3 separate regions of the Homo sapiens genome follow, and regions 2 and 3 are each linked to region 1. Evidence: promoter capture Hi-C in 16 types of primary human blood cells and fetal thymus (Javierre and others, 2016). All regions are on one chromosome and are shown on one strand. Each heading gives the region's core, a stretch centred on a gene start or on the middle of the fragment in contact. The rest is flanking DNA. Distances are from core to core; before and after follow the strand shown.

Region 1 (3,756 bases), core at 151-2,650:
CTCCGGAGGCTATATACATTTACCCTCCTTGGTACACTGCTTTTTTTCAAAAATAGAAATTCAACAAAATTTCCCAAAGTAAAAGTTCATTTGAAGTTTCAGAAACTTAAAACAATGATTGAACAGATAAGTTGCAACAGACTTCATAAGCAGTTCAGTAAAAATGTAGACTTACGAAATGGCATATATCAAGATACAAAATAAGTTGCTTCTATAAGTTTCTTTTCTTAAAAAAAATTACTTGGAAATATTTCAAGTATATAGAACAGTAAAGGAAATAATTACAAGTGAACACCCATGTGCCCTCTACTTAGCTTAATGTTTTGCCACATTTTCAAGATATTTCTGGTAGAAAACAAACGTTATAGATACAAATGAACCCTTCTTGTTACATTCCCTTCTGTTCATCTCTGGAAGCAACCAGTATTCTGAATTTGGTATCTATCATTTCCTTATACAATTTTTAGTTTGATCTTACTTTTTTGTAATTATTAAACTTTTATTTATGGTATGTCATATATATCTTTCCGCAACCTGTCTTTTCATTTCTTCCTCAATATTAGGTTAATGACTCTATCCATATGAAAAATGGTAGCTTTAGTTCACTGATTTTTTGGTTCGTGTTGTATGTCAATTTGTTCAACAATGACACTTATTCATCCATTCTCCTATTAGTAGACATTTATTGTTTCACTAATATAAGCTATTTTGCTCTGAACTTTCTTGCACGTGCCTATAACTTAAAAATACACATACTTTTTTAAAACATGCAGTTAAACAGGAACATACACATTTCTTTAACATGTAGTTAAACAGGAAAAGTAACACATGTGCATGAAGAATACAACCAAGAGAGCCATCACGTTCAAGAAAAGACCACAGGTTATTCCGAGTGAAGTAAGGCTTTCACTAGAAGGCACTTGGGGAACGTTCCAATGACAGCGACATTCATCGCTACAGTAGAAACTCACACAATCGCAGCCCTTTATTAGTATTTTGTTACCCAGTAGTTCCTGTGTCCATTCATTTCCTCAACTGGAGTGTGAGCTCCAAGAGGACCGAACCGGGCACCGACAAGGTGAGCCAATATGAATGTGGCGAGTCCGCAATGGGGGCTACAGCGGCCGACCTCTGGGGCTGTGCCAGGCCACTAGAGTGTGATGGCGCGAGGGAAGGGTCGGGGAAACAGGGCCTAACCTCACTTTTCACCCCGAAAGTCAAGATAGCCACGGAAACAGGGATGAATGGGGAGCACAGACACCTGCCTCGAAGTGTCTCTTCACTTTCACTCACAAAGCCGTCGGGTCAGTAACCAGAAGCCGAGGGGCGGATGCGGCCCCCGCCCTGTGGCACTTTCTCAGTCTGGTTCTTCCAGCCGCGCCTCTTTGCCTTACGCCAATTCCGTAAGGAGGCGCTGAGGCCAACTGGCCGGCTCCCGCAGCTCCAAAACTTGACGTGAAATTGCGCGGGGCAGAGCTGACTGCGGCCATCTTTAATTCGGGCAAGACCCCACCCTCGCACCCCACCCACTAGTCCTTTTCAGCGTTCCCAGGATTTTCTCCAACAAATGTAACGCGGTTAACCTTAGAAGCAGTGTTGAAGAAACACGCAAAGAGGCCTGAGTATCCATGACCTCAGTGGTGCGAAACCCGGCCAACTTAAACATGGCGGCTAAACCCGAACAGCAAAACGTTGCTGACGCCAATGAAGTCATGCTCGAAATGGAGCGAGGCGGCGGAGCTGGGGAGGCGGTAATCTCGCGAGATGGAAGCCAGCCTCCGCTAGGCCCGGAAGCCTCGTCTGAGGGGGCGGGGGACGGAGGAGGGAGCGGGAGTCGAGCGAGAGCCTGTGGAGGAGTCCGCCTGCTGTAGCGTGCGTAAGCAAGGCAGCTACGCCGGGCGGCTACGCTGCGGAATCGGCGTAGGCGCCTTTGGAGAATCGGCGGGCTGCGCTCCGCTGGGGCTGGTCGCGGAGGGGGGGAGGGGATGTCGGTCAGTGCGAGATCCGCTGCTGCTGAGGAGAGGAGCGTCAACAGCAGCACCATGGGTGAGTCTCAGCTTCGGGTGCCGCGACTTGGGGTCAGCGGCTCCGAATGCCGGGAAGCTCTGCGGCCGCTGGACCGAGCTAGGGAACGCCCTGAGGCGAGGCGGAGGCAGCGGCGAGGGGAGCCGGGATGGGGGCCACTGCGGGCCCGGGGCGCGGCAGCGGCGGGCTCGGGGGGAGGGGAGGCGGCGGCGGTGACAGTTTGAATTGAACGTGAGGAGAGCCGAGGCGGCGGCATTTCCTGTGCCGCGGCGGGCTGGCCCCCGGCGCAGAGCCGCGGCCTCCGCGGCCGGAGCAGCCTGAGCGTGGTGGTCTCAGCCCTGCCCTTGCTTCTCTCCGTCCCTTCGCCTTTCCTCAGTCTCCTCCCGGGCCCGCCGGCTTCCGCGGCCCCGCTTCCTCCTGTCCCCGGCCGCATCCCCGTCGGCAGAAGTCCCCTCGTGGGGCAGTGGGCCTGGCTAGGAGGGTGGGGACGAGTGTGAACGCTCGGGCGAGGGTGCTGTGTGGGCCAACCCGGGCGGGCGGCGGCGGGGAGGGAGGAAGAAGGATGCACCAGGCTGAGGCTGTGGTGGAGGCGGCGGCGGCGGCTGCAGCCGCAGCTCCAGTCACCGCGTCGCCTCCCCGCTCCTCCTCCCGCCTCTCGGGGTTGCCTCTCTCCAGGCGCAGCCCGGAAGGCCGGTGGATGGCGGGCGAGTCTTGAGAACGGAGGGAGAATCGGTAGTTTGGTTTGGAATTTGGGCTTAATTTTTAGGAGTAAGGGAAAGAGAACGCCTGGGAAGGGCGCCCCCCGGAGGAGATAGAAAGGGTGGGAAGGGTCCTTGGAAAAGGGAGGGAGCGGAGATGTGGAGTGGCGAAGTTTAGGGAAATTAATTTTTGAAAATATTTCAATATTCTCAGTTATTCTCTTAACGAGCCCTTTCATTTCCTTTCCTCCCCCACATGTTGGAAAAAGAACAGGCCATTTCATTTACATTTTCCACTCCTGAGTTCCATTTCAGCTGTGTGTATAGTAAGAAATAAGCAACCGAGATTTTTCTAGGACATTTCCATTTGCTGAGTTACTTTTGAAGAGTACACTGTTTCAAATTTGGGTTTTTACAGTCCTAGGAAAGAATTTGTGACGTCCAGGTGTTTTCTTAGTTACTGAAATAATAACTTACTACATTTCTTGAGTTTATTGCTAAATAGTTCAGCTTTAAGAATTCTTTCTTCTGGCTTTTTTATTTTGATGAAAGGAAAAAATATCTTTGTTAGTGCCCCTGAGAATGTAAATGAACAGATCATCTAAATTACTAAGCATCTAACCTGTTTTACATATTTATGCACATGCAGGTGATGAGTATAGTCAGTTTTTCCCCCTAAAGTTTATGTGCAGACATGGGGAGGAGAGTATTTTAGACTTAAAAGTGTACAGGTAGGGATGAAATTTATGGAATCCTGATAGACTGAAGGGGGGATATAAACAATGACCAAGTCAGCTATTGCTGCTTGGATTCTTTATTTCTTCAGACTGCAAGGGAATGAGTAAGGGGTGGTTGGGTGGTGATGGGGGGGTGGTACGGTCGTGGCGGGAGAGCAGTAAACAATCTTTCATCTCATTCAGCTGTTCAGTGGGTGGGACTAAAGGAGATAAGAGTTGAGTGAAGCTATGAAATAAATGTGGAAGCTACATAGGTGATTTGCATGGTAGCATTGTCTTATTCTATGATGGGACAA
Region 2 (4,153 bases), core at 10-2,509, 1.6 Mb after region 1:
ATTCATTTTCCACTAAGAAAATTAGAAAACATTATTTGATATTAGCAGCCAACATCCATATCTTATCAGGTCTGTGGGATTGGTAATGGGAAATTGAAATATGCTAAACAGTACCTCTTAGTATCCTGCTGGAAAATCTTTCTATGTTTAGGGACAACTACAGAAATATTCACCAAAAATATCCGAGGGGGAAAACCCCTGTACATTACATGTAGAATATTAACACCTACAAGGTGGAGAAGAGAGAGGACGGATAAATTCATTAATCTAAATTAAGCATATCCAGGTCACTGGCTATGGTGGATACTTGTTGGGGCACACATACACCAAGTCACTCTTCTTAAAAATTATCTAATGTTTGTTCTGGCATTCTCTGATCGCCACCCTGCTGGTGTGTTGGGGGAATCTGCCCTGTGGCCAACTCCAAAGTCCAATCCTGTTTGGCAGAGACAGAAAAAAAGAAACCCTAAATGACCCAGAGAGTGGCTGAATCAATCTAATTCTGTAACTCACCATACCTCTAATCTTTTCAATGATATAAGCTTTTATTGTTTAAGCCAGTCGGCATTCAATTTTCTGTTTCTTACCATCAAAGTCATTCTACCTGCTGCATTGGAAAAATCTACCACACATCCCTGGGTATGTTACAATGAACCTTTCCCTGTGGGAATAAAACAAGAGCAAATAAAGAAGTAAACGCTGGGCAGGAACATTGCAAAAACACTAATAATCCTTTTTTTTCTTCCTGCAGACTGCAATGCACGTAGCTTGCAGTAAAAATCTTGAGAAATATCTAAAGCCAAAAAAGCTATTTAATGGTTTAAACCAGTTATCTAAGTTGATTTGACCTTGGTATTACCAATTACACAAAACCAAGTAATATCCTACCTTCTGACATACATACTTTGGGGCCTTGGTACTCATCTTCATGGCAAGTAAGCTGATTCTTAGTTATATGCATACAAAGCCTGTTAATTTTTAAATCCACACTCATTTCTCTTGCAATCTGGAGCCTTGTTGGAATATCTCTCACTGCTTTCAGCTACTGCCTGAGCAAATTAGCATGCATGTACTCCTGAACAAAATAGATTGAGCAAAGCGAATCTGTGGCTTCCAAAGTTATGTTACGTGAAAATACAGAGGTCTTTGGAATCACTGAAAAGTTCTGGGCTGTATGTGCATTTCTGTCTTCAAATGCAAAGATGTCCCTACATCTTCAACATCAAGAGTGTAGGGTTTAAGAGCATAGTTCCAGAGTCAGAGACTACGTGAGTTCAACTCTTGGCTCTACCACTTTTAAATTGTGTCGACTTGGCAAGTTTATTTCCCCAGTCTCAAGTCCTTATTATAAAATGTGAGTTATGATAGACAGTATGTAAAGTCTAGCGTGGATATAAAAATTTAATGATCGTAATAATAATTCATATAAAGCAGGCAGCACAGTACCTGGCACATAATAAAGGTACAACAGATGTTTCTTGCTGTGATTGTAATATCTGCAATTGATACTGGAAAAGAAAATAATTAATGCATGAAAAAATGTATCTTCCCAAAGATATATCAGGGCTTCAGGGAAAAGAAACGTGAATTAAAGTAATAATAACTCTCAATATAAAGTGAGTGGATCCAACTTAAAGTTAAACATTAATTCTTGATTATTTGCTTTGGGAAGAGGAAGGAACAGAGTACATTAAAAATAAATAATACCCCAACAACTCATAAACCCAATAACTACAGCACAGCTTCAACATGTCTTAGAACAAAATTCCCAAAACAACAAGAGACCCATGTACAAATTAAGTTAAAAACATATTCCATAATGAAATCTACAGTCCTAAAAACCAGCATTTCAGATTATCAGTAACATTAAATGAGCATACAAATTCAAACCTGTGTTTTCAGATTTGCGGCTGACCTACAACAGAAATAAATGAACTAACTAGAGATAACTCCTTTATTGGGCTTCCATCTAAAGCTAAGCTTTACTTAGGCTTTCAAATTGTTGCACTTACTTCCTAAATCAGATATGCCACCAAAACTGCCCACTTTTGTCAACTGTCAGGAAAACTGACAATACGAAGTTCACAAAGACGAAGCAGGGAAGAAAATAGCAATTTGACTTGCAGTCCACTCTCAGGTTTTAACCGTATGGAAAATTTTATATACACATATATTTTCCAAAGTTATGGAATATGGTTTAGAATCTCAGGAATCCCATTCTCACTGAATAATTAAACTGGGAGAATGAGAGGTTTCACACCATGACAATGCCACTATCAGAACTTACTGAACCCCAGAAAGGACCTATGGCCACCTCACCCAGAGGAGCAGGCTTGTCCATGCACACGCACAGACCACAGTATGAATGATGCCCCTGGAACTGGATAATGCATAATCTCCATTTCTTAGATTCCCGCCCTAAAAGGAGGGCCACATTTGCTTACAACAGCTCAAGGCCTAGATTCTCTGGAATTTTCCCAAGAGAGTTATTTTGCATTTGCTTACAATTTGAAAGCCTAAGTAAAGCTTAGCTCTAGATGGAAGCCCAACGAAGAAAGTATCTCTAGTTAGTTCATTTATTTCTGTTATAGGTCAGCTGCAAAGAGTAGCATAAGAGATTTTAATCAAGCAAATACTTGGAGCAAAATTAGTGCTGACAACAATCTTGTAAGCAAAATTTGTGTGCAGGTGAGTCAGAATGTGTTTTGTGGCACTGAAAGAGTTAACCACCTGTCCTATCAACAGTGTTTACTTTTGTGTTTGGCTCATTCACTTCCTCAGTTTCTCCACAAACCTAGCTTATGAAATCAAATGACTGCAAGCAACTAGCTGTAAAAGCTAAACCCCTACTGAGCACTTTCTATGAGCGTGATACTCTGCCAAGCATGATTTCATTTAATTCTCTCAACGATCCTAGAAGAGGGCACCGTTTTACAGCCAAGGAAACTGAGGCACAGAAGTTTTGCTGGTGGACACACCACTGAAGAGGGGATAGAAAGACTGGACCAGAGGCAGCTGTTATGCATGGAAAGGCGTCCCCTGAGAAAGACACGTTGAAGTCCTTTCCTGCTATCTGTGAATGTGACCTTATTTGGAAATAGGTCTCTGCAGACATAATCAAGTTAAAACGAGGTCATTTGGGCAGGTGCTAACCCACTAGGACTGTTATCTTTATAAAAAGAGGAAGATGTCTACTAAAAAAATGCAAAAATTGGCCAGGCGCGGTGTCTTACGCCTGTAATCCCAGCACTTTCGGAGGCCGAGGTGGGAGGATCACGAGGTCAGCAGATCGAGACCATCTGGCTAACATGGTGAAACCCTGCCTCTACTAAAAATACAAAAACAAAATTAGCTGGGCATGGTGGTGGGCGCTTGTAGTCCCAGCTACTCGGGAGGCTGAGGCAGGAGAATGGCATGAACCCAGGAGGCGGAGCTTGCAATGAGCCAAGATCACGCCACTGCACTCCAGCCTGGGAGACAGAGTAAGACTCCGTCACACACACACACACACACACACAAGCAAAAATTAGCTGGGTGTGGTGGCACACACCTGTAGTCCCAGCTACTCGGGAGGCTGAGGCAGGAGAATCGCTTGAACCTGTGAGGCAGAGGTTGCAGTGAGTCGAGACGGCACCATTGCACTCCAGCCTGGATGACAGAGCAAGACTCTGTCTCAAAAACAAAAGAGGAAAACGTCATGCAAAAACAGACACACAAGAAGGCAGCCATATGAAGATGGAGGCACAGCTTGGAGTGATACTGCACAAGCCAAGGACCACCTGGGGCCACCAGAAGCTGGAAGGGGCAAGGAAAGACCCTCCCCTGGAACCTTCAGGCCAACTCCTTGATTTTGGACTGCTAGTTTCTAGAGCTGTGAGAGAACAAATCTGCATGGTTTTAAGCCACCCAGTTCATCAAAAGATGTTAAGGGAGCCCCAGGAAACAAACTCAACATTGCAGGCTCTCCCCAGCTACTCTTTCCTGCCTCCATTTTCTTTCCACTTGACCTGACCTATCTGCTAAGAGACAGAAACCAAAATTTTCATTCCACCTTCTTTTTCTGGACTTGAGATTGCTACAGATAGAAAGTGCAGCACATTTTGAACTGTCTTTAACAGTGTGTTTTTTAAAATTAATTTTCACATTAGAGCAT
Region 3 (4,118 bases), core at 977-3,476, 1.6 Mb after region 1:
AGAGATGGGGTCTTTTTCTGTCCCCCAACCTGGAGCACCGTGGTGAGATCACAGCTCACTGCAGCCTCAGACTCCTGGACTCAAGCCATTCTCTTGCCTCAGCCTACCAAGTAGCTGGGACTACAGGTGCATGCCATCATACCCAGCTAATTTTTTAACTTTTGAGAGATGTGGTCTCGCTATGTTGCCCAGGCTGAGTTGTCAGCCTTTGACTTTCTTCTTTGGATAGCCAATCCAAGCCCAGGTCAGCTAAAATGCTTCACCTAATCATGCATCCCAGCAGTGTGGCTGCCTCCAGAAGAGATTACAACTGTCTTTGTAATTAGAATCATTCATGTGGGGAACACTAGATGTAAAATATGAAAGGAGAAGTTGAGCAGAGTAAATTTCCAAAGACCTCAAAAGTTCTAAACTAAAACTTGGTGAGAAAAGGGGATAGTCTGTCGATTTTATTCTAAGTAAGGTTAAAGAGTTATTGCAAAGGGAGCTACTGCCTTTCTGCATCACTAAAGTGAAAAGCATGTCACTTGAGTTTCTAGTTCCTCCAAGATGGCAGCATGAGGGCCTAGCGCACTGGCAAGTTCTACAAATAGTGGCATTTTTTTTTTTGAGATGGAGTCTTGCTCTGTCGCCCAGGCTGGAGTGCAGTGGCGCAATCTCAGCTCACTGTAAGCTCTGCCTCCCGGGTTCACTCAATTCTCCTACCTCAGCCTCCAGAGCAGCTGGGACTACAGGCACCCACTACCACGCCCGGCTAATTTTTTTTGTATTTTCAATAGAGACGGGGTTTCACCGCCTTAGCCAGGATGGTCTGGATCTCCTGACCTCGCAATCCACCCGCCTCGGACTCCCAAAGTGCTGGGATTAGAGGCGTGAGCCACCGCGCCCGGCCAATAGTAGCATTTTGAAAAGTTAAGTCAATAGCCGACAGAACTGCATCTGGTTCAACATTTGGAAATAGCATCTCCTGCAGGGGGTTAAACCAACAGTATTTTGTTAAAAGGAGATAGCTAAGTATTTCTTGTAGCCCTCTAGAACGTCGTCATCAGAATCCCTGGCAAGTTGGTTAAAAATGTAGTTTTCCCCAGAATTATTGAAACAGGCTTTTTAAAATCGTTACCTACACTGAGCAATACTTTGACATTAAGACTGGGTGTCTGTTTTATGAAATGCTGTTTTCCACACCACTCTTCTCTTTCACATTTTAAACTGCTGGTCTTGGCCTACTAAAGTGATATCATGATCCGCTCATGGGTTACAGCCGTAAGCTTAAAAAGCACTTCTCTGGTTGACTAGAAGGAACCAGAACTAAAGTTGCACAATTAGTAGCAAACACTCCAGGCTTTGTGATGCAGAGAGGGTTTCTTAATCCACCACGTTTTCCAGATTCAACAGAATGTCTTATAAACCAAACTATCTACTTGGATGGTTTCAGGCACCAAAAAGTGGTTACAAGCTTGAGTTACAAACCTTAATTGTATCCACTGTCTTAGATCTGGAAGGGAAATGTTACCTCCATAGGAATGATCACCTTTAACCCTTGAGCATTAGGCAACCTGATGAAGTAAGCACAGTGTGTGATCAGGTGAGCTCCTTGCCTCACCCCCAGCCACATCCTTCAGCAAAGGCTTCAAAGCCCTTTCCCCACCCGCCCCACCCACTCACACCAAACACCCAAAGGGGTTAAATTACTTTGAAACACTCAAGAGTTAGCTTCTTTTCAATATAGTAATTTAGTAAATGTTCAAGACTTAGCTGCACCTGCAGAACACCTTAATGTTTTCTCACTTTTATTTTTCTTCTCCTAGGCATTTCTCATCTCCCCTGCATCTGCCACACAGCCTCCCTTACAGCCTCCTGTCTTCACTTCCATATTGTAGGAGAGCAGAATGGGACACAGTAGATGCCTCTGACTTCAATCCCCTTACAATCATGCCCTTCCTCCTAGGCTAAAGCAACACAGACTTCTTTAAAAGACCTTCTCCAAGGAGAGTGATGAAACACCAGATCTGGAATGGTTATGTGTCATTAAGTGTACTGGTTATCTAATCTCCCAAGGAATCACCTCTCTGTTCCTTTCTTCAGGCAGAAAAAGGGAGGAGTCTACTCAAGGCAGAACAGAGTCTAAAAGAAGAGTGGCCTGGCATGGGGGAAAGGACAGCGAAAAAAGCAAAAGCCCATTACCTGGGCTTCTCACTTGCACTAATGCTGCAACATTTTCCTGGTATATTTCCCTGGTGGATCTCTCCCAGTATAGCCACCTCTCATTTAGTCAGTCAACAAACACTTATTGAGCACCGACATCATGCTAAGAATCCATCCAGGTTCTGGAGCTGTAAACAAGACAAGGTAGTCACTACCCTCATGGAACTTCTGCTCTAACAGGGAGAGAGACAATACTCAAAATACACCAATGACTGTATAATGCCAGGGAGTAAAAGGTACTAAGACAAAAAACTGAGTAACATAAGAGGCCCAGGGAGTGTCTGGCTGCTATTTTATATGGGGTAGCCAGGGAAGGCCCCCTATAAGCTGACAACTGGACAGAGACCTGAAAGAAGCAGGGGAAGTGAGTCATCTGGACATGTGGGAGAAAAGCTCCTCCTGTAATATCATGGGCAAAGGCCCTAGGGAGAGAACTCAGTGAAAAAGAAGAATGTAAGACGGTGAGGGTGCCTGCAGTTACCAAGGACAGTAAGCATGACCATCACTAGAACTGCCCATCTTCTTGCCCAATGACTGCTCCAGGCCCTGAGTTTCCCCAGACTCCCATCCGGGTCTGCCTCCGAGCCTGCCCCTCCCTGATACCTACCATACTTCTTGTTCTCCAGTTCAGTACCCTCCTGACACAACCCCTCCCCAAGAGTCCCAGCAGTCCAGGTCATTTTCTCAAAATTTACCAACCTAATAAAAACAAACAAAACAGAGTAGAAACAAGGCAGCATGCACATTTAACCACAGCCTTCCAGAGATAGGAAATGTACAATAATAAAGAGTAAAGCTTCAAAAGGTCAGCTATAAGAAAAATTAAAAATATGTGATGTTTCTGCAGGGGATCTGGCCTCCTAACTTACCATTATTTTCCCCCAGATCTGTAAATTATGGGACATTAATGCTTGAAACAACCTTGGAAAGTAGGCATGGAGGTGAGATAATATGAGAACCCTGGCCAGAGGAGACCCCAATAATAGCTGCTGCCGGTTTTTGCAATCTCAAAGTGATTCTGAGAAGGATTATATCCCTCTATGTCCCAAAGTTGCTCGCAGGGTTTTGGTGTGTAAATACAGGTCATTAATTACTTTTATAGAAGCAAAAGAGAAACACTCAGATATTCTTCCATAGCTTCATCCCCAAGTCACTGGCAGCGCCCAACAGGAAGCCTCCGCTTCTGGAGGCCTCAACCCGTCTTAGATTATCTGAAATCTTAACCATAACGAATTAGGCCCGAATCATTCAAGGCCAGCGGTGTTGGGAAGCCCATGATCCAGCGCGGGGGGCATCCCAAATATATTCACTGAGTCTCGGGAGCCGTCCAGGGACTCTCAGAGCTGGGTCACTACCTGGGACCAAGCCTGAGGCTGGTCCTTTAGGTCAAGGCAGGTCCCGACCCGCCTCCAACTTCAAATGGCCCCCTAGGCGGGAGAGGGTCACTGGGCGGGGAGTTCCTGGCTGTGCGGTCACACACACACACACCGACTCACACACACACCCACAACACCCCCCCCACACACACACACTCACACACACACCGACGACACACCACACACACATACATACGCGCGCGCGCACACACCACACACACACACACACACACACACACACACACACGCCGCCTCGCGCGCGCTCGCGGCACAGCACCGACTTCCCAACCCCAAACACACGCGCGCACCCCCGGGACAGCTGAGTTCTGTATTTCCTCTTCCTCAAAGCGACTCCGGCGATCGCAGTCGCCACTCTCCGCTCCGATTCCCGGGCCCCCTGGCATGCCGCCGCCCCCTTCTCTGAAGGCGCGCCCGGTGCGTCCCCTCTCCGAAGCCGAGATTTCCACGAAGCTCCACAAAGCTCCCCGCCGCCTCTCTCGGTCTCGGCGGAGACCCCGGTGTGTCCCCGGGAGGAGA

The links. The method cuts DNA at HindIII sites, captures the fragments that hold promoters and counts their contacts. A CHiCAGO score of 5 or more calls a contact.
Region 2: a contact is called between a fragment that was not itself captured here and the fragment with the promoter of SEPTIN7-DT in region 1, in 1 of 17 cell types (activated CD4 T cells). The highest score is 5.9, in activated CD4 T cells.
Region 3: a fragment that was not itself captured here is called in contact with the fragment with the promoter of SEPTIN7-DT in region 1 in 1 of 17 cell types (fetal thymus); the score reaches 9.0 in fetal thymus.

Annotation. Positions count from the first base shown.
Region 1 is chr7:35,799,225-35,802,980 of GRCh38, forward strand. It overlaps SEPTIN7-DT (SEPTIN7 divergent transcript), which reads right to left and starts at 1,401. Exons shown (of 5, transcript NR_120512.1): 1 at 1,266-1,401. It overlaps SEPTIN7 (septin 7), which reads left to right and starts at 1,833. Exons shown (of 14, transcript NM_001788.6): 1 at 1,833-2,046. The coding sequence starts at 1,986. RefSeq lists enhancers at 1,065-1,124, 1,247-1,870, 1,485-1,874 and silencers at 2,025-2,264, 2,295-2,744. The HindIII fragment of the contact is 5,766 bases long and covers 1-3,756 here.
Region 2 is chr7:37,414,167-37,418,319 of GRCh38, forward strand. All of the region lies in intron 1 of ELMO1 (engulfment and cell motility 1), which reads right to left. Among named protein-coding and RNA genes, the nearest start is that of ELMO1, 33 kb to the right of the region's middle. The HindIII fragment of the contact is 1,438 bases long and covers 541-1,978 here.
Region 3 is chr7:37,443,922-37,448,039 of GRCh38, forward strand. All of the region lies in intron 1 of ELMO1 (engulfment and cell motility 1), which reads right to left. Among named protein-coding and RNA genes, the nearest start is that of ELMO1, 2.9 kb to the right of the region's middle. The HindIII fragment of the contact is 1,545 bases long and covers 1,455-2,999 here.